Linked DNA regions of Homo sapiens: region 1 is linked to region 2. Evidence: promoter capture Hi-C in 16 types of primary human blood cells and fetal thymus (Javierre and others, 2016). All regions are on one chromosome and are shown on one strand. The core of a region is centred on a gene start or on the middle of the fragment in contact, and the rest is flanking DNA. Distances in the headings are between cores, read along the strand shown. Region 1 has its middle 13 kb from the start of DNAJB9. Region 2 holds the start of IMMP2L (inner mitochondrial membrane peptidase subunit 2).

Region 1 (3,767 bases), core at 1,150-3,649, 3.0 Mb before region 2:
TGGCTGTGTGCAGTGGCTGGACCCTATGCTTGCTCGCTCACACACCCCTCACCATGCTGCACCTGGCTTGCCCTTGGCTCATTTGGGATCTGGGCCAGTAGCACAAGCCGAGCACTGTCTCCATGGCCAAGTGGGCAGAATGACCCCAGTGGGTGTGAGCAATACTCAGGCAGAAGGGGCTGCCGGCCACAGAGGTTTCCAGCTGGCAAAATGACACCCCAAGGATCCCGTAACACTTTTACTCTACCTCTATACATATTTTGGTGAAATATCCTTTGGTTGTGCAAAATAATGTGATGAACAGAAACAGATTAAAATACTAATATAAATGAATAGTTAATTACAGAGTCTTGCTGGAATCAACAAATTTTTTTACTTTGCATATATGCATAAATGAAAAATTACTCATCTTGTACTCCATGTACACTTTTATAATAAAGTTTCCAGTAAGTGCCTACAAAATGGTCTCATGTTGTGGGAGAACCCAAAGGATTCACCAAAAAATAAATCATTAAAAAAGGAAAAGAAATGAAAAACAACAAATCTAGAAAAGCAACGTATAGAGTTTTGTTGGGAAGAGTTGCAAAGAAATGAGCAGTATTTGGTGGGGTAGTGGGGTCAAAAGAAGTTTCCTTACTAAGCAGTAATAATTAGTTTAACATATTTATGAAAAATAATATCAGGTGCTGAAATGATGGAGCAGTGTCTTCAAAGATCTGAGGGGAAAGTGCTTTTGAACTGAGGCCTAAATGGACACATTATTAATAGAGGATGAGACCAAATGAATGCATTTTGAAAATGTAAGAACTGAAAGATTACCACCCACATACCCTTTATGAAAAAAAACTGGCTTTTATTCTACATGGCAATGTACAAAAAAAGGAACAATATTGAGGACAAGAGATGATGGCAGCTGAGTTATACACCCTCAGGAGAAAATAAAACTAGAAGGAAATTGAAAGTATATATTAGAATTTGACACTTGGAAGTTTCTTTTGGGAAACAAGAAATATTTTGTTTCATGGATCTAGTTGCTCAATTTACAATGAAGTTGTTTGCATTATTATATTATAAATGTTTTCCAATCAGTGTGTAAACAAAGAAGGGAGGATTTAATTATATTTATAGGATAATCATGTGAAATGCACCTAACATATCAGGAAATGGAAGGAGAAAGGAAAATGGAAGGTGAAGTGTAAGAAAAGATTAGTGTATTAATTCTATTATCTTTCATAGTAGGTAATCAATTGACTCTGTCTAAAGTTATAAATCAAAGACTGGTGATTTAAGCACATTATTTTAAATTTTAATGACAATCGGAAGATCTGACAACAGACACAGGTAACATGATAGCTTTTAAGGAATGTGACTGGGAGTCGGGAAGATTTACTTTGCATTTTACTTCAATTTGTAATGTTTGAATTTTTGTTTGTGAATGCCTGATTCCCACATTAGTGTATTTTTAAGGAAAACAACAACCACAAACCCTGGTGTATCAGTGAGGATGCCTGCAGCAGCAGGTAACAGAAAACCCTAAACTAAATTTAATACATAAAATAAGCTGAGCAATAAAAGACTTACTTTCTTCTCTAACAAGAGGTACAGAGGTCAGGCAGCTCCAGGAATGGTATTCCAGGAATCTGGTTTTGCTTCTTAGTAGCTGTGTTGGCTCTGACCTCTCTGTGTGTTGGTCGCATCCTCAGGCTGGTAATAAAATGGTTGTTATGAGAAATGAAACCTTTTCTAGAATGTCCTCACAACACTTTCCCTCCCATCTTTATTGGCCAGAAATGCTACCTGTTGCTACAAGTCCATGCCCAAACTAATCACTAGTAAGGGGAATATGATGACCACAATTGATGTAGGTCAACAGTTAAGACCCAGAATGGTGGTCTGGTCTAGTCTCCCCTGAAACTCATCATTACATGGAAAAGCGTGGTGTTTTAGTCTGTTTAGTGCTACTACAACAGCATATCACAGACTGGGTAGCCTATAATAAAGATAAATTTGTCTCTCACAGCCCTGATGCTGGGAAGTCCAAGATCAAGGTGCTGGCATCTGGTGAGGGCTTTCTTGCAGTGTCATAACATGGCAGAAGGTATCATATGGGAGAAAGAGAGAGAGAGAGAGAGAACTCAGCTTTTTGTGAGGGAACTACTCCCATGATAATGGCATTAATTCATTCATGAGGACAGACCTCTCATGACCTAGTCACCTCTTAAAGGTCACACCTCTCAACATTGTAACATTGGGGATTAAGTTTCCAACATACGAACTTTGGGAGACACATTCAAATGGTAGCAGGTGGATACCAAGAAAAAAAGACATTATATTATAGGGGAATGAGAGAAGGATGTGTATCCTACAACCAGTTGAATATTAAAACTTAAAAACAGACCTCAGTGGTTTTTAAATCTTTATTTTCTTTATGATTTCTTCTTCACTATTAGATTATTTAGATGTTTTTAAAAAGGATTGGGCTCTTTTTGTACCCATGAATGATGGCTGGGTTTTTTTTTTTCAGTTAGAAACAAACCTCACCTTAAGTACTGTGGAATCTTGGCCTTGGTAGATGACATTTTTGGTTCCAACTATTTGGGACAGATTCCAAAGTTTCATGATGTAATAATTTATGATTTTTTTGAAGTATAAAATTGAATTGCAATTGTATGCCTTAATAGTCTACTCTTCACTCAGGTAGTAAGTGAGCATAGCTACCAATTCAACATCTATGTATAAAGATGTCTTTGGGTGGTTTGTAAATAAAATTATCTTTATCTTTGGGTAAAGATTACTTTATGTAGGCATTGATAAATGGTGTTCATTACATTAGAGATCCGAGTGTCTTTAATCAAGGTCAATACTATTTTTTTTTTTTTTTTTTCCTGGAATTGGTTGTGATCATGGCTCCTTTACTCAATCAAATCTTTTGCTGCCCACCTTTCTCCACTCTGCCTCATCCTGCCATGGTCACCTAAATTTCCCTCATCAATTTGAATACTAGCTTTGAATTTGAAACTACTGGCCTTTAGGGAGTCAAATCTACACCTGGATTATTTCCCTTAGCCTTGGCCCTGGAAACTCCTTGTTTTCACTCTCTCCCAAACAACTGATGCTGTTGAGGTCCCAAGGATGCCTCTGGTCGAGTCTTTTTGAGTTGTGACACATTATGCAATTATCACTCACTAAATCTGCAGTTTCAATCAGTATTGCAGACACTTTCAACTATTCAACTTTAGGATTAATTTCATATTATTTAAATATAATTTCATATAATAATTACCTGAAGAAACATTACATGATTCATTCCATATATTAGGGAAAAGTCATTACAATTCTCCACTGACATTTCACAATTTACTTTTAGTTACAACTAAGTGTATTAATATGTAGGTAATAATTTAAAAGTATTACAATATTTTCTTGTTTTAAGTAAATTTTACCTTAGCATTTTCTAAATGGTTATTCTAGGATAGGTCTTAAATTACATATTTCATAATTAGAAATGGAAGGAATGGTGTTTGTTAATGAATATCATTTGGTTCTTCTATTGATTTTTATCTTTTAGGTAATACTGGTTCTTATTCTCTGACACATAGATCAGTAATATAGGCCCATGTAAATCTGGGACATGAGATATGGAGAACAACATTTTTCTTTGCTTCTCAGGGAGGGTTATGATCCATTCATCTCTGTTCCCTTCTCTGTGTAGGTAAAAGAGTCTATTAGTCAGCATCAGTTAATTGATGTTGTGATAACCACCCCAA
Region 2 (3,805 bases), core at 531-3,030:
CAATCTCATCATTCTCACCATCCTACTTTTATCAAAGTGCTGATAAAAGTGCGTAGCACATGGTAAGAGAGAATTAGCTATTGAATCAATGAAGGAACCCATTATCAATAAACAATCACTTCCTGTTTTCCATAAATTATGTGGTCACCTATCACTTGAGCACAAACAAATAGGCACGTTCAGGACACAGGCAGCCAGTATCAGAATAGGCAGCCTATCACAGAGGGCAATTCTACTTTTCCTGTGTAAGAATCCAAGAATGCAGTTTTACTACATTCCTGCTTGTAGCTAATCTGAATTTCAACTAATTTAAAACGGTTATTTATATGTGACATATAGGATGCATAATGAGCTCCCAACCTTGTGAGAGGAGCTGTGTTTCATTTCACCATACAGGGGAGAGGGAAGCAGTGTATTAAAGAAGTGATAGAAAAGTCCCACAGAAGAACCAATGAAATAGACCACACTGAAAATCACAGTAAGCCTCAGAGAACTTCAGTGTCCTTTTTGGCAACTTTTCAAAAGTGAATGGAATGCTTGCCAGGAGGTACCAAGAGTGAAAGCCCAGAGAAAAAGGCCCAGCCTGGTCATCTCTCTCCCCTCAAAACATCTTCTTCTGTAAGCTTGAGAGATCCCAAAGAACTTCAACACTTGTAATCTTGTTACTAACTTTATGCTTTGGGGTCCTAAAGGATTTTTTCAGGAGTACCCTTTTAAAATGTAAACATCCCTAGGGGGGTTACTGTTCATTATCAAACAGGACCTGGATTCTTTAGTGCTATGGTCTCAGGGATTAGTCAAAGCTGGCTAATAAGATAGGGGCCGGAGACAGACAACTAGAGAGGACCAATGTTCCAAGGTAAAAACAGGTAAAGGGGAAGTGCAGTTTTCTGTCGGGTCAAGGGGCTAAAAGGGATCCACATGCCCAAGCTGTTAAACTCTATAGACTGTGTGAGGCTGAAAACAGTCCGGGGCCTGGAGCCTGTGACTTTGAAGGTGGGTCCTCCAGTTCCCGATGAAAAGGTAGAATCTGGGCCCAAGTTCCCCACGAGCAGTTCTGGACATCTAGCCCTTCTCTCTCTCGCTCGCTCTCAGGATAAAGTCCTAGGTCCTTCCACCCCTGACCATTCCTTACTTACCCTTTCTCCCGCTCTTCCTCGGTGAGAAGGGGTAAGTGGTTATTTTGTGCCCTCGCCCAATTTGGCCAAAACCCTAAAAGTAAAAAACGACAGACAGACACGTGCTTTAAAATCATGTTGTTCAAGCCTGACGCTCTCCCACCACCTGCCCAACACTTCCAGGCAGAAGGCAGCGCGCCCCCACAGCGCTCCCTCACGGCCAGAGCCGGGGGCCGGACTAGGCCCCTTTGTGAGGACTGGGAGAGGGCGCGTTGTTGGGGCGCCGGCTCGGCGGGGAGGAGCGGGCCAGCTCCGGGCCAGGTGTGCCGCCTGTGGCGCCGGTTTCTCAACCTAGTTAGCCAGTGGCACCAAGAAGAGGACTAGGCTGGGGTGGCCGCCGCACGCGCCTCAGATAAACACGCGCACGCACACATGCTCGCGATCACGCAGGACTCGCGGCCGCGCACCCCTCCGCCTCCCGGCAACGCCCGCCCCGCCGGGGCCGGGGCCGACTCCCAGGGAAGGGTCCCCAGCCCAAGAGACCACCAAGGGTCGGCGGCTACGCGCCCGCCGACCCCTGCCAGCCTCACAGCCCCCCACCCGCCGCCGGACGCCGGGCGCCCGCCCTCCGCACCCGCTGCGCAGCTCAGCCCGGGGGAAGTCCCCGCGCAGACCCCGCCCTCCGCCGGCGGCAAGCTCCGCCCCGCTGCCCCGTCGCGCGCTGGCCGCCCGAAGCTCCGCCCCCGGCGGAAAACTGGTCTCTGGACCGCCCGCCCAGGTCGGGCTCAAAATGCGGCGTGGATCTGAAAGGATCAAACACAACACTAATTCAGCAAGCTATTATTGAGCACTTGCCCTAAGCTCAGCAACGTACTAATGGGGGAGACTACAATAAAGAGCCGAAAAGTCTATGAAACTGTGTCTTCAGCTCTTCCTCTTGTTTTAGAAGCCAGGAAACAGAGAACCCTCACAGTTACTTAAGTACAGGGCAGTAGTGGCAAAGCACCTCACTAGCGATCTCTGGGCAACTCTTCATTTCATTTTTTCCTACTCATGAGCACTCAGGAAAACTATTCAGTTTTGCTGCCTCCAGGTAAAACAAAGTGAGTAACACAGGACAGGCGGTTTACTTGAGAGAAACGGGAATTTCATACTGAAGCTTTTGCCCTCAAATGGTACAAACTCTTTTTTTTTTTTTCCTGAGACGGAGTCTCGCTCTGTCGCCAGAGCGACACTGCAATCTCCGCCTCCCGGGTTCACGCCATTCTCCTGCCTCAGCCTCCCTAGTAGCCGGGACTACAGGCCCCCGCCACCATGCCCGGCTAATCTTCTTGTATTTTTAGTAGAGATGGGATTTCACCGTGTTAGCAAAGATGGTCTCCATCTCCTGACCTCGTGATCCGCTCACCTAGGCCTCCCAAAGTGCTAGGATTACAGGCGTGAGCCACTGCGCCCGGCCGAATGGTACAAACTCTTAACTGGGTTATTACAACCTACAAAGAAACCTTCTTATCCATGTTATTAATTATCCTAATTCAATGTGGTTTAAAATGTTGATGAAAGTACCCAAATCATGGTGCTCCAACAAGCTGGATGCCAACCAGGTACTCGTAAGTACTTGCAATTACAGGTGCGATATTTTCATTCCATATCATCCCAAGATGCCCTTCCTTCACGTGAAGCAGCCAGAAAGATCAACTACCAGATTCCGCATGATTGAGGAATTGATAAATAGAAAGGGAAGACCGAAACCGGCCAAATTTTCCCTTCGAAGTGAAACTTGAGAAACTTGCGTGCATTTTACCTGAGTTCCTTTCTCAGCAGATAAACTGTCAGACCTCCCAGATAGTGTCAAGGAAATGCAACTTTCCAGAACACTACATCTGGACAATGAGGTGCATCTGCTGCCTGTTCACAAACTCCTCTTCCTTACCCCTCCATAATTCCCTGCTATAGAAAGCCCTAACTTTAGTCTCCCTAAGACATGTTTGAGACTGGTCTCCCTGCCAGCATCACCTGCATTAAAGCCTGTCTTCCCTGGCAATACTCGTTGTCTCAGGGACTGGTTTTCTTTGCTAGGAGCAACCCAACCTAGGCTGAAGCCCAGGCATTTAGCAGCAGTGGCACCTAGAAATACTGAACAGACATAAAATACTTTTTTTCTCCTTTTCTTACTCCTCCAGTTGTATCTTCATTATTTCTGTCTCTATTCTCCCTCTAGATACTGCCAAACTACTCTGTGCACTTTCAGATCACTTAATACTAATGTAAATAACAGACATTCTGGCACTCTTGGTTCAAAATTTATTCTAAAGGTTTAAGAATCTACTCAGGGTCTTAAATAGCCTGATAACTAAAATTCCAAGAGTTTCCTAAAGAGAGCAAAATTGCTCTCCTGTGAAGGGGATATGTCCCAGTTTTTCTTACTTGTCACTGAAATAATTACTGCAAAGTAAGCTCTTTTCGGCCAGTGCTTAAGGACTTAATTTCAAGAGCACTTAGGTGACAGGACCACCCTCATCAAATAGCAGTCAAGAACTATTTGGTACCATGACCCCAAATTGAATGGAGCTCCTGGTCACTAGGAACTGACAGTCTGGGATGGAATGTAGGTGAATAAACAACAAAGACAGGTGTTTATGGCCTTTATTGTATTGGGAAGTCAATAAACATACAAAAAGAGTTGC

The links. The method cuts DNA at HindIII sites, captures the fragments that hold promoters and counts their contacts. A CHiCAGO score of 5 or more calls a contact.
Region 1: a contact is called between a fragment that was not itself captured here and the fragment with the promoter of IMMP2L in region 2, in 1 of 17 cell types (total CD4 T cells). The highest score is 5.5, in total CD4 T cells.

What each region holds. Positions count from the first base shown.
Region 1 is chr7:108,580,503-108,584,269 of GRCh38, forward strand. No RefSeq gene overlaps it. Among named protein-coding and RNA genes, the nearest start is that of DNAJB9, 13 kb to the left of the region's middle. RefSeq lists a silencer at 1,549-1,749. The HindIII fragment of the contact is 5,107 bases long and covers 1-3,767 here.
Region 2 is chr7:111,560,712-111,564,516 of GRCh38, forward strand. It overlaps IMMP2L (inner mitochondrial membrane peptidase subunit 2), which reads right to left and starts at 1,781. Exons shown (of 6, transcript NM_032549.4): 1 at 1,140-1,781. RefSeq lists a silencer at 1,313-1,942. The HindIII fragment of the contact is 1,654 bases long and covers 622-2,275 here.